Regions from separate parts of the Homo sapiens genome. Here region 2 is linked to region 1. The links are contacts of gene promoters, found by promoter capture Hi-C in human tissues and cell types (Jung and others, 2019). All regions are on one chromosome and are shown on one strand. The core of a region is centred on a gene start or on the middle of the fragment in contact, and the rest is flanking DNA. Distances in the headings are between cores, read along the strand shown. Region 1 holds the start of PHF14 (PHD finger protein 14). Region 2 has its middle 340 kb from the start of PHF14.

Region 1 (7,111 bases), core at 2,701-5,200:
TTGACTGTGTGTTTTGGACCTACAAAACTGGTAATTCCATATAGTTCAACCTAACATTTCTACATATGGTTCTTCTGGTGGTTATCACCATAATTCTAATAATGCATATATATCCTATTTTAGGACTTACTCATTTCAAACTTTATTGACTGCTTTCAATCAAAAATGAGAAGCTTACTTTTGCTTTTGCATTAAAAATAAAATATAAACTATCTTCAGTTTCATAATTTTCTAAAGGTACAGGCTCGTAATCACTTGCCAATCTTATGGGTGGGTCATTCTTTACCAATGTTGATTTGTTTCTATTTTATGATAGAGTTAAATTATGTTTATCTGCAAATGTTTTCTATATTTATTCTTAAAACCAAACAGAAATATAAAAAGTTTTATAGTCAGAATTTCAGATTTCAAGATGAAGGTAAGAAGAAATTGATCCACGGAATCCAGTTAGCCAAAATTAAGGCCAACGAATCTAACCACTTTAATATTAAGTTCTAAGGAAGTCCGTAGTTCATTCAATGAGTCATTTCTAGAAGTTGTTTTGAAAGAAGATATGATCAGACAGATGTTTAGCTACCATTTCTCTACTTCCAATTTAATCTCCTATTCGTAAGTAGGGCTGGGAATCCACAACTTCAACATGTTTGGAAACCAGTGATAGGACTAATGTCTTATTCTCTACAAGACTCCAACTAAATATATACTATCTCAGGCACAGAAAAGATTCAAATGGAAAACAATGGTAATCTAGAGTAAGCGAATATCTCAGCTATGCAGAGCATCAATGCACCTAAAACAAGAGTCAAAAATATGATTCAATTTCTGTTGACTACTAATCATTTTAAATACAATCATTTTCTTCTAAATTCCCTTTTACAATAAATACCAAGAACTATACATACAAATTTGTGACCTGAGACCACAGATCACAAATTTAAGCTCCCCAGGGGGCCAGGAAGGTAAATTATGAGTGCAGCATACTAGATATTATATTACAAGAGGGAACAGAAAGTAAATATTTTTAGTGTGTTTAAGGGATATATAGATATATCAACCTAACAAAACTCATCCTATCATTTTTCACAAATAACAGTTCTCTTCAACTATAATTAGGATTTAACAAGGTCAGAAATCTCTACTTAGCTCGATATCATAAAATATTTTGAGAAAGTACTTTATGTTTGTATCAGATTGTTTTACCACTTGAAAAAGAAGTGATACCTGTGAATATTCCATCTCAATGAACAAACCTTGGAAACAAATTGTCCATAAAGTCAAGATTTATTGTCACATAATAATGTAATACTTAATGTAAGTTTTAGAATTGTTCCCATATTCAAAGAATTCGTAACTTCCACGACCCAACTATGTTTGTCAAAGTTTACAACCACAACCATAACAAACCAAAACTACATCCTAGCCAGGAATATTCTTATCTGCCAAGGTCTTTACCAAGAGAACTAAGATTTAAATTTTACCTCCTTTCCCTTCCCCTTCCCTTCTTTGGAAATACCAAATATCAGCAAACCAACTAAATGGGAGATAAAGAGCTGAGAAGCAAAGGATAAAAAAACAGTTAATCAAGATAAACTTATCAATTTTTGATTGCTGCGGATGAATTCAATTAGTAACCAAATAGTCAGTTTCTGTTTAAGATTCCGTCCATCAACTCTTGGGATCCAAGCAGATAAACAGACTAAATTCTGAAGTCAAATCCATTGGATCCGTTACTGCCTGAGTGACCTCATGCCAGTTCTTTAAACTCAATACCCCTGTTACCTGTAAAATGGTATCTCCTTCACTAAGTTACTGTGAAAATTAAGTGAGATTATGCAAACAAAAAGTTATCAGTAAATCACAATGCAAATTCTGCTGTTGATGCTACTAAAAGTAGCAACAGTAATATAATTTCGTTCATCCCTTCCTACTATCCCTAGCAGGAAAAAGACAAGGGAAAACCAGAAGAAGGAGAGATGTGACTAACCACGGCAAACTCTCTGGAAGTATATTTAAAAACTGTTGAAGAGATGAAACTGGAAAGGCTTTTACTTCTCATTTTATTTAAATTTTCATCTCACTTTATTAAAATTTTCAAAAGAGGTGGAATTACACATAATTTTCATTGTTCATGTTTATCAGTATTTTTCCCATAAAACATTTAAATTAAACATAATTTTTGTTTCTCAGATTCCTTCAATTGAAACTGTATATATACATAAGGTACACTGAACAGAAAATACAAAGGAAAATCATACTTTTCTGTTTTCCAGTTTAGTACAATGTGAATATACGACCTTTAAAAAAAGTTTTTAAAATTACTAAATATAGTGAGCAAGCATGCATGACTTATACTTCAGAGACATCTGAAAGGCCCAATCCACAAGGTCCAGCACCTACTATAATTTGAAGTGCAACTCTTACTCTGGTCAATTTTATTCTAGTAAAAGAGCTAATACACAAAAAAAGCAAAACTCCCCTAAGAGATTGTCAAGTGATCTGAAAAAAGAAGAACCCTGCTCAGGGACTATTAATGGTCCACACACCTCTCAGGATACTTTTCTACTTCGGGATATCTTTCAGTTTTTTCCTCTATAATATAAGCATAAATATATTTTAAGGTGTAAAACAGAGAAATCCTTTTGCATCTTTGGAAAAAGTCCTTCCCCTGACTGCTAATTATCTCTGAGGAAAACAGAAGCAATTATAGGTCTAGTGACAGGATCTAAAGGCAAAATGGGAAATCAAATGGACAAAATAAATGAAGTTTACGTGCTTTCACTTAAAATTGGCATTTTAATCAAAACCGATTTAAAAAGTCTAAAAATAAGCCTAACTCCAGAAAGCTGGGAAAGGGGAAGAGAGAAGGAAATATTTACCTGAGGCATCTCCAACTTTAAAATCACTGTCATCTGAACTATCATAATCAAGAGCTTCCAGCAGAGAAGCTGCCAAAGGCTTCACCTGCCTCCTCTTGGAGCTGCGATCCACTGTGAAGAGAAAAAAATTACATTGTCATTCATAATCACACCAAACACAGGGGAGAGTTGTGGTGCTAAGAGAACATAAAGATGACCTCGCACAAGGAATTTTTGTCTAACTGAGTTCTCAGCAAAAGGGGTCAGGAGAAGGTTGGGGTGCAGAAGCAGGGTGGGGAGGGCTGGACAGCTCCACGGGCAGTTTCAAAGGCAGCTCCAGCCCTGATGCTGCCAACGCCAACTCAGACCAGCTAAAATCGAAGCTGACCCTCTTGCTCATCTTTTCGAGATGTTTCTGCACCTTCCTCGTAATCCCCCACTTAGACATCGTAACAGTCAATAAAAACGGCAAAAATCAGGGAATAAAACAAGCGGGCTTCATTCCCGCGGACCATGGAGGGCGAGGGTCCACCAATCCTGCTTTCCCGCAGGACTCTCCCACCCCTGCCCTGCTCCCACCGGCCCTGACTTCTAGAATGGCTGAAATGGACCTCTCGCCGCAGAGGCCTCGGATACACTTACTAAGGAATCCGTGAGGTGGTCGTTTGGAGAAGACTTAGGGAGAGGCTGCAGGAGCCCAGGCAGCGCCGAGGTCGGGGACTGGGGCCGCGAAGACAAGTCCGAAAGATGCTATTTAAAACCGGCGCGCAGCCAGCCGGACAGGGGCGCTCCCAAGAGTAGCCCCGCGGTCCCCTAACCCCCCGCCCCCCCGGCCTCGCCTGGCCCTGGCCGCTCGAGCCCCTTCCCACAGCGCTCCCTGGCCGGAGAAGACCTCCGGCCCAGGCAGCGCAGTCAACCCGGCGGCCCCGGGGAGTTAATTTCTCCCGTTAAAACTAGAAGAAAAAAAATTAAAGAAAGAAAAACTTTATTAGCCTGGACCAGAAGCAACGAAAGACCAGAAATTGCACAGCGCGAGGGCGGCTGCCTCAGACAATAGGGAAAGCAGCGACCCGGATACAGCTCTGAAAAGGAAGTGAAAACACGAGGCTGAGCGCAGCCCTGAGAGCAGCAGGAATTGAGGGCGCATGCGCAGGACTCGCCCCCGCGCACCCTTCCCGAGCAGGAGCCGAACAGAGCCGAGTGAAAGCCCAGGGAGCCGCGCGGAGGCGAGCGGAGCCGAGTAGTGCCAAGGCGGAGCAGAGATCCCCGCCAAACCCTGTGCAATTCCGCCCATAAACCCCAAAGGCTCCGCCCTCTCCGCGCCTAATTCACCTCCTGAGTCCAAATCCCTGGGAGGCCAGTTTTTGTTTCTGATCTGTTTTTTAAGGATTTACTGAGTAAACGTTCCACAAAGGGATGTTTGCTACCTTAAGCCACTACCAATATTTAAATGATATTGTCACCGGTAGAGGATCGTGACTGCAAGTTGTCCAGGTTCTTGGCGTTTTTAACAAAGAATTGGACAAAACGCCCAGCAAAGCAAAGAAAGAATGAAGCAACAAAACAACAAAAGCAGGGACTTATTGAAAATTAAAGCACGCTCTGTACGGAAGCGACCTGAGCAGCGGCTCAAGGGCCCGGATACAGAATCTTGAGTCCAAATACCCTCTAGAAGCTTCCTATTGGCCACCTAATGCTCACCTCATGTAAATGAAGTAACGCGCAATCAGTCTGATTGGTTGCAGAAAGCAGCCAACCAGAGGCTGAAGTGAAGTTACAAAGGTCATGCTCCTGTGCAAACATTGGTGCAAAAAGCAATCAATCAGAGGCTAGGGTGAAGTTACAAAGTGGTATACCTCTATGCAAAGGAAGATTTCCCCTGCAATCAGTTTGATTTCTTGCAGATGGTGAAGTTACAAAGTGATACTTCTATGCAAAGGAAGACTCTCCTGCAATCAGTCTGATTTGCTGCCCACAGCCAATTTCCCATCTGCCCTGCAGAAAAAGTGGGGGTTTGCAAAGGGAGTAGCCTCTGGTCCTTTTGTTACTTAGGCATGGAAAGTTAGGGGTTTCCTTTCAATTTAGTTCTTAGGAAGTCGGAGTGACACATCCTTAGGTTCCCTGCCTCCACACCCTATTCTCCTGCCTCACTCTCACCCAAACTATCATTGCCATGTGACCTCTCAAACTTTTCTATTGTGCTATAGAAACTTCTATTCCAAAATGTATAACCTACTTAGTAAACATTTTTCCTTTTCAATGCCCATTCTTTTTACCTCCTCATCTGAAATAGAAACAGTTACCCTGCAGCCCTCTCAAATGAAAACCACTCATCCTTCCATACTTCATTTTCTCAAGGTGCAGAAGTGGCATCCCATGCTTAATACTCCTCATTGCCTTTCAGATATTTATTCTTCCAGTTAAAATCCTAGGAACTTGGTTATTTTAAAAACTCCACTCTGGGAATTTCACTTCCATTCTACTTTAAACACCAACCATATCATGGACTGATAGTCTTATCTATGAAATTATAAATCCAAATATTCCACTGTTTGACAATAGCCTTTTAGATTTATTTGGAGCAATTATGCTGAATCATCTAAAAGAGAAATTCAAAATCTGGCATTCGTGTTTATGTAAAACTAATTTCTAGAAGGAGATTTTCAGAATCAAAATGTATTAATTCATTTACTTTAATAAATAACACCTAGTTGCTCTAGAAAAACTGTACTGCCGGGTGCGGTGGCTCACGCCTGTAATCCCAACACTTTGGGAGGCTGAGGCGGGTGGATCACTTGAGGTTGGGAGTTCGAGACCAGCCTGCCCAACATGATGAAACCCCGTGTCTACTAAAAATACAAAAATTAGCTGGGCGTGGTGGCACATACCTGTAATTCCAGCTACTTGGGAGGCTGAGGCAGGAGAATCACTTGAACCTGGGAGGCAGAGGTTGCAGTGAGCAGAGATCACGCCACTGCATTCCAGCCTGGGTGACAAGAGTGAAACTCCGTCTCAAAAAAAAAAAAAAAAAAGTCTGTACTAATATATATACCACCAAGAGTGGATAAGAATTCTTTCTAGTTTTCCAAACCTGTGGCCATTGGATATCAGCAATCATTTTTTTTTAACTTTTAATTTTGAAGTAATTTCAGATTTACCAAAAAGTGCAATAATAATACTGAGTTTTTGTACATCCTTCACCTAGCTACCACTAATATCAGTATCTTATATAACCATAATACATTTATCAAAACTAAGAAACTAACATGAGTACAGTTTTGTTGACTAAACACTTTATTTATATTTCACTAATTTTCCTACTAATGTCCTTTTTTCTGTTCCAAGATCCAATCCAGAAGACAATATTGCATTTAGGTTATTAATCTTTTGCAATTCATGTATTGAAAGAAAGTAAGAGAAGGAAAGAAGGAGAAAAGGAGGGAAGGAAGAGAGGGAGGGAAAAAGGAAGAAGAAAAGTAGGGTAAAAAGAAAAGAAAAAAATTACCTAATTCCTTTTTTTGACCTGCATTCAATAAACATGGAAAGAACTGCTGGTTGTTTCCCAATACCCATTATCTCCTTTTTCTTCAAAAATGGAAGCTCCAAATTTTAACTGGGCATAAGTTTTCAAAGAATAAAGACATAATATACCAACTTTCTTGATGTTGCTTGGAGTTATGCAGTTAAGTTCTGGCCAATTGCATGTCAGCAGAAACAGTACGTGCAACTTCCAGGAAATGATATTAAATGAAGGGGCTTGAACTTTTCCCTCCCTTTTGTGAATGCTTGTTATTGCTTTTTCTTGCCTAATTGCTCTGCCTAGAACCTGCAGAACATTGTTGAATAAATGTGGTGAGGGAAAGACTTCTTTGTCTTGTTTCTGACTTTAGGAAGAAAACTTTCAGTCTTCCACTTAGTCTTATGTTATCTATAGTTTTTCAAAGATGCCCTTTTTCAGGTGGAGGAACTTTCCTGTTCCTAGTTTGCCAACTGTTTTTATCATGAAAGAGCTTCGAATTTTATTAAATACTCTTTCTCTGTCTATTGAGATGATCATGTGATTTTTGTACTTTATTTTTTCAATATAGTATATTACTATATTGCTTGATTTTTATTTGTTTAATCAACCTTGCACTTCTAGTATAAATTCTACTTAGTCATGTTGTATAAATCTTTTTATAGATGCTAGATTCAGTTTGCTAGTATTTTGTTGATTTTTGCACCCATATTTATAAAGGAAATTACATTTTGATGTC
Region 2 (7,111 bases), core at 1,577-4,076, 340 kb before region 1:
AAATAGCACACTACCAACATCATTGTTCAGCAGCACCATAGGTATCTCTGTGGGAATTTTTTAACAAATTACTGACAAGGGTTGGCCCTATTTAATCCATAATCGTGAATGCCATCAGCGCCTATGGTTAGAGGGCTATAAAGCCAAAGAGTAGCACACACTTTGGTCTTGTTCAGACTAAATTACTACAGAAAAAGGGTCAAATACCAAAGTAACCACGACTGCATCTTTAGATTGCCCTCTCAAAATTGTTATTTGTTTGTTCTGAGGATTTAATGGAAAAATAAGCAATTCCTTTATAGTTGGAAATTAATTTTTTTCTGGTAAACAGATGTTTAACTATCCCATTAAATGTGGATTTATTTCTTCTTTTTTTTTAATCAACACCCACACTTTCTATCAAAGGGTACAAAATTTTTCTGGCATCTTCTTTAGATATTCTACAAACATAATTGTTTGATTATATATAGATAGATACTGATATCAAGCAACTTACGGCTAGAGAGTACAATTTACACAGATTTGAACAGATGCATACATTTCGAACTTAAAAACCACTGACCAAACACTGAAGCATTTTGGTGGTGGTGAGCAAATGCAGCAGTTACATGTGTATTCAGACAGAAGCGTGGGGTCAAGGTTCCTACTGACCTCCATTTTATCACAAAAGTTCTCCAAGAGATAGAGTTGTAGAAAGGAAGTCCAAGTCCAAGACAAAAAAAAAATAAAGACAGATGAAATAGAGATAAAAGTTCAATTTAAAACATTATATACCATTTAAATGAATGGGAATTGGAATAAAGTTTCCCAAAAGGTACACAGAAGGAATAATCTGAATATGAAAAGTTACCACCGTCCTAAAGAGACACAATTGAGGTCACATTAAGGCTACTGGTTAAGTAATGGGTAAAAATCAAAAGAAAAGCCTCTAATCTGTCATTCATAGTGCTTTGCAAAGGATGGCATGTATATTGATTTAATCCTGATAACAACCCTGTGAAGTAGATGTATTATCCCAATTCCCCATAAGGAAGTCCAGGAGGGATGGTGCCTCATCCAAGTCAGTTTAGCTAGTAACCGGTAGAAAGAAAAACAAACTCAGGTCTTTTAGCTGTCTGTCTAGTGTTATTTTCATGCTACCACAGCACTTGTTTTTATGAAGGACAAAGCAGCAAAATGTCACAGTACGTGCACCCGTGGACTGAAGGGTATAACATGTTCCAAGTCAGGTTGAAATATTTCACCTCCATACTCTGTATTTCTTCGGTCTTGCCAGTCACTGGCTGGCTATGGGATCACATTAGTGGTGATGACCCAAATTTCACTGGTCTTGCCCCTACCTATATTGCACACACTTTCAGACTTTTGCAAACCTCTCCAAGAGCTTCCAGGAGATCCGGAAGTATCTCGTGAGTTATTTTCTCACAGTGTCTTAGCTTTTCAGTGACACCCACTGCTTCCAAAACACTCGAAGACTGTGCCTCTCAGTGCCACTGCTACAGCCACAGGAGAATACCCTTGTTTGATCAAGACCTTCTTAAGGTTCCCTTCAGCTTGACTAAACTTTTGACAGGCTTCTTCCTGAATGTATAAGCCCCTGACCTCCCCTTTTTTAGAACATTTACTTTACAAAGCTTACAGATGCAAATTTTTACTCTTTCACTTTGAGATGTCAATCTTCTAGTCTCTTGCTTCACAGTCCAGTGATGTCTGTCTCAAGGACCTGAGAGCCATCTCTTTGAAATGCAATCATCAAGAAAGATAGCACTCTTTTCTCCCAGTCTCTGTGGGAGGGTAGAAACCTAACTTCCATAAGTGGCAATTAGCCAAAACAGATGGCCTAATCACATGACCAGCCTCTCCCCTAATAACTTTTTAAGAACTTTTCTACTAGCCCAGCCTGGCATTTAAAAGTCTTCCCACCTCTTGTTTCAGCAGAATTGTATTCTATTTATCTTCCCTATTGCAAGAGTCTTAAATGAAGTCTTCTTTGCCTGTTTCCCTCCCTTCAGTGCAAATTTTTCACATCAAAAGCGTCACTGCCAAAATCTTCCCAGGACAACAAACCCTCAGAGACTCACAGAGACTCCTGGGAGAATGTCTCTCTCCCTGACTCAGGTTACAGCTTATAACCTGCAGTAAAGCCAGAGGACTCACTTTTCTCATATCTCACGGAGTTCTTTGTGAAGTGTTCCTCTGCTTTCTGGCTGCAAGTCTATAGCCTCAAGCAGAGACAGTGTGGTGGGCAGACACACGCTGCCCTCTTCATCTCAACTCTTGTTTCAGGTGCACAGAAAAAATCCAGAGCCCCTCAATTTTTAAAAAATCAAAATAAACTCCTCATGAACCCACGCAACTAAATAACAAAGATGCTCATACACATTTGAATTCCAGTTTAGTCCAAAACCAAGATCTTGATTTCACTTAGATGAGTGAAATAGTGCAATGGAGATGCTTAAAAATAAAACAAATGAGAGAAAATTAAGTGTTTTTATTCTTTACCCCTTTCGCATTTTTTTAAAGGTCCAATTTAAACGACCACTCATAGAGTATGTTTAAATGCTATGTCTTACACTACATATCAATTTTTCAATTCAACTTTAGATTCCAACCCAGCAAATTTAGAGCAGTTTTACAAGAGAGAGAGAGACAGAGAGAGAGCGAGAGCGAAAAAAGTAGAGAAAAGAAAAAAGAGGACTACCAGCATGGTGAAAACTAGAGAAAGCATATTTCAATTCAGTATTAGGAAAGGGTGTAAGAATTACAGCTGTCCAAGACTTTAATTTGTGGTTGTAAAAAAAATTGTTTTTGTCCATGTTTGGATCAGGGTAGAGGCTGGAGATAGTGCATTCAGGATGTTGTAGAGGGAATTCACACATAGGAGAGGACACTGAAACATCTGAGATGTTCAACGCTGAGATGATACTATTTGATGGTATTACTCTTTGTAAAATATTACTCTTTTGGATCCCTTAATGAGGTTTTCTTAATTTCTTTTACATGTATTACCACCTCATTAACCAAATGGAAAATATTCTCAAAATATAAGAGTATTTTCTGAAATGAACTCCCAATATCAGAAAGTCATTTTTATCAACACATAAACTTTAGGGCAGGGCAAAAACACTGAATGGTGCATTTAATTAAATATTATGTATTGCTACTATCTTTACTCTTTGGCATCATGTGTGTATGTGATTTAGTTCTTCCTTGTGGCAGTCTTCATGCAATTAGGCATTACTTACTCTTGGATGAATGATCTGAGCACTACAGATAGGTAAATTGTTCTTCCTCTTTTTCTACAAATATTGCATTCCATAGTTACCAGAACACTGTGCCAGACATAAAACTACACCAGAAGATAGAATCCCTATTCCTAAACAGCCAGTGCTATAGGAAAGAGGGAGAGAGCTCCAGACAGGAATCAGATGTTTCTCTTTTAGTTATTGTCCGCCACCCCCAGGGTAGAGGGTGAGCAGCTGGGCTCAACCAAGTCTGGAAACCAAGCCAATTGGTCTGGCATCTTGGGCACTGGCTCACTTAATTTCTGGAGGTCATTCAATCTGGCTGGCACAGAGAGCCATGCAATATTAACAACAGCAAAAAGAGCTTACAGATTTTAGGGCACTCTAGTGTTGGACATTCTAGGCTTCAAATCTTAACAGTTCCTAAACCTCTGAAAAATGGCAATAATACAGTGGGCTCTCCTTAACTATGGTTTCCCTTTTTGCGGTTTCAGTTACTTATGGTTAACTTTTGTGGACAATATTCCTGGCCCGAAAATACTAAATGGAAAATTTCAGAGGTAATGTCTAAGTTGTACTTTGCCTGCCATTCTGAGTAGCATGCTGGATCCCACCCCATCCCACTGGGGATGGGAATCATTGCTGTGTGCAGCGTCTCCTCACTGTGTATGCTACCCAGCTGTGAGTTACTTAGTAGCCCTATTGATGATCAGATCGACTGTCTCAGTATTGCAGTGCTTTACTTCATAATGGTCCCAAAGCACAGGAGTAGTGATGCTGGCTACTTAGATCTTTCAAAGAGAAGCCATAAAGTGTTTCCTTTAAGGTAAAAGGTGAAAGTTCTCGACTTAATAAGGAAAGACAAAAATCGCATGCTGAGGTGGCTAAGATTTATGGTAAGAACCAGCCTTCTATCTGTGAAATTGTGAAGACAAAAGGGTTTGGCATTATCGGCAGTTTCAGGTATCCACTCCACTGGGAGATTCAGAATACATCCCCTGTGGATAAGGGGGGACAACTGTACCACATACAATGATCACCATAAGCTATTGTTGTGACAATTAAAGGACAGAAGTGTTACATACTGAAAAGCGAGCCAGGCGCCATAGCTCACGACTGTAATCACAGGGCTTTGGGAGGCCAAGGTGAGTGGATCACTTGAGGTCAGGAGTTCAAGACCAGCCTGGACAACACAGTGAAACTCTGTCTCTACTAAAAATATAAAAATCAGCTTGGTGTGGTGGTGCACACCTGTAATGCCAGCTACTCAGGAGGTTGAGGTGGGAGAATCACTTGAACCTGGGAGGTGGAGGTTGCAGTGAGCTGATATCGTGCCACTACACTCCAGCCTGGATGACAAAGTGAGACTGTCTCAAAAAAAAAAGAAAAGAAAAGAAAAAGAAAAGTGGTTATTATTTTTGAAGAAAAACACGAATAAAGAAAAGAGCCATTGCCACATTATTAAGAAGGGCCTGAGACTATGATTTACATATACCTAATGCCCAAGTTAAGGAGAGAAAAAGCAGATGACAGACAGATAGGCTGAGGCAACATTTGCTAACAGGTTGTAGCAAAGTAGAGTAGATCTATTAGATTCCAATTTCCTGTCCTTCATCAGAAATGTCAGCTACTAACCAAGACTCCAGATACAGAACACTAAGAATTTTGCTTATACTGAACACAAAATGTTCCCTCCCTCATTTGCCTCTTAGTATATATTTAAGGCTCTTGAATATATGCAAAACATAACCTTATGCACCTTAACATGACTTTTTTTGTTACTAGAAGAATTTTAAATAAGTGCAAAAAGAAAAACAAAAACAAAAAAACCACTTGTTTTAAAGCTTTTTAACTCTAGTGGGATAGAATGCTAAGAGTAATAGTAAGTTCTGCCCTTGGCTACACCATTTCATTCTGCTCTAACTGCTATTATTTACCTATCTGATTATGTCACCAAAAAGAGTAAAGCCCATTATATAAGAAAAACCATTTATAGAATGTATTGGAATTGTATAAACTGCTCTACTTATCACAATACATGGAGAGCAGAATTGTCTGTGATTGTTGGAATCCAGCACTCGCGGATTGTGTCAAGAAGAATATAAACAGCCAGATTCCCCATCCACCAAAAGCCCACATGAGTCCCTGGTTCGAATGAGGTTATCAGAATTTGAAACTTGCAGCAACTAATCAGAGTCACGCTATTTGGTTTCACCTAAAAATAAAACATCTGACTACTCCTTTCTTCTGTAGTAATAATGCTATTTTTTTCTGAAGGTGGAGGAAAAACTTTAATGGCATGAATAAAAAGACTAACAGTTTTTCTTTGAAAATATAGCTCCAAAAGGAACAATTCTGTTTCCTTTTTTTTTCCAAGTTACTGCCTTCCTTTTATTTTCACCAACAATATTTTAGGTAAGCTTCTCTTTATCAAATTTTACTTTGAAAGACTATGAGTTTAAATTCTGTTGGTGTTCCCTGCTGCTCTAGCCAGAGCACAGAGAATTATGGCCGAAGCCTATCTTTAAAGTCAGTGTGTTGGCTTAGACACTGGCCAGCTTTCATTACAAAGGTGCTTTATGAATCATGAATCAAATGAATAGCATAATAAAAGCTCACACCTCTGGAAGTATCCATCTAATGCATTTTAGGGGGAGAAAGAATATCTAGTCTCTCTCTTCTGAAACTATGCATGCAAAATAAAAAGGGGTTTTATTTATACAAATGTGCACTTCTTTTCGTCCCTTCTTTTTGTAGGGGGCATTACTCATTTACAACGTGCTCTCCCTAGGGAAGTCTGGGACAGGCAACGTCTTGCTTGCCCAACAGTCAAAGAAATGGTGAGCACATAAACATCAATTATTGCATGCCCCCACAACAAAAGTGCAATAACTTTGGTAACAATACAAATCAAATAAGGGTAATGGGAAACACACACACAGACACAAAGGTTAAAAGCAATAATGAAGGTCATTCCTGAAAGTTGTCCAAAAATATTTCTAAGTGCTTTTACAGTGACAGAAGTTGGTGGAAGTCTCTTGAATGTACTGCCGTATTTACCTCAAGCACAGCTTTATTTAAAAATGTGTGTTTTTCTTCCCCATTTCTTCCCCAAATTGTTTCATCTTTGAAATTTCTTAAAACTGAAATTGAAGATATAAAGAATTTAAGAAAACACATTTCATCACAGAAGAGATAGTCTTTAACATTTGTGCATAGGTTATTAGCAGAGAGGTGAATGGGAGAAATTTTTACCCCGTAACACTTCCTCAAGGGTAAGAGTTCTCCTTTCTACTCTTCCTGCATCTTTACGTGCTATAAAACCCACTGACTATGAGTTTTTGACCCTTGAAAGGCCAATTCCAAAGGGGACAATTCAAAATCAAAACCACAATGAGATACCACCTCACACCAGTCAGAACGGCTATTATTAAAAAGTCAAAAAACAACAGATGGGCCGGGTGCAGTGGCTAACGCCTGTAATTCCAACACTTTGGGAGGCTGAGGCAGGCGGATCATGAGGTCAGGAGATCGAGACCATCCTGGCTAACACGGTGAAACCCCGTCTCCAATAAAAATACAAAAAATTAGCCGGGTGTGGTGGTGGGCGCCTGTAGTCCCAGCTACACGGGAGGCTGAGGCAGGAGTATGGCGTGAACCCGGGAGGCAGAGCTTGCAGTGAGCAAAGATCGTGCCACTGCACTCCAGCCTCAGTGACAGAGCGAGACTCCATCTCAAAAAACAAACAAACAAACAAACAAAAAAGATGCCGGTGATGCTGTGGAGAAAAAGGAACACTTACACACTGCTGACGGGAAAGCGAATTAGTTCAGCCACTATGAAAAACATTGTGGAGATTTCTCAAA

The links. The method cuts DNA at HindIII sites, captures the fragments that hold promoters and counts their contacts. A contact is called where the count stands out against the background at its distance.
Region 2: a contact is called between a fragment that was not itself captured here and the fragment with the promoter of PHF14 in region 1, in 1 of the 25 tissues and cell types used here (H1 embryonic stem cells).

What each region holds. Positions count from the first base shown.
Region 1 is chr7:10,970,711-10,977,821 of GRCh38, reverse strand. PHF14 (PHD finger protein 14) reads right to left here and starts at 3,950. Exons shown (of 18, transcript NM_001007157.2): 1 at 3,498-3,950; 2 at 2,877-2,987. The coding sequence starts at 3,498. RefSeq lists silencers at 3,106-3,155, 4,136-4,195, 4,706-4,755 and an enhancer at 3,886-4,180. The HindIII fragment of the contact is 9,763 bases long and covers 1-7,111 here.
Region 2 is chr7:11,310,423-11,317,533 of GRCh38, reverse strand. No RefSeq gene overlaps it. Among named protein-coding and RNA genes, the nearest start is that of PHF14, 340 kb to the right of the region's middle. The HindIII fragment of the contact is 5,103 bases long and covers 275-5,377 here.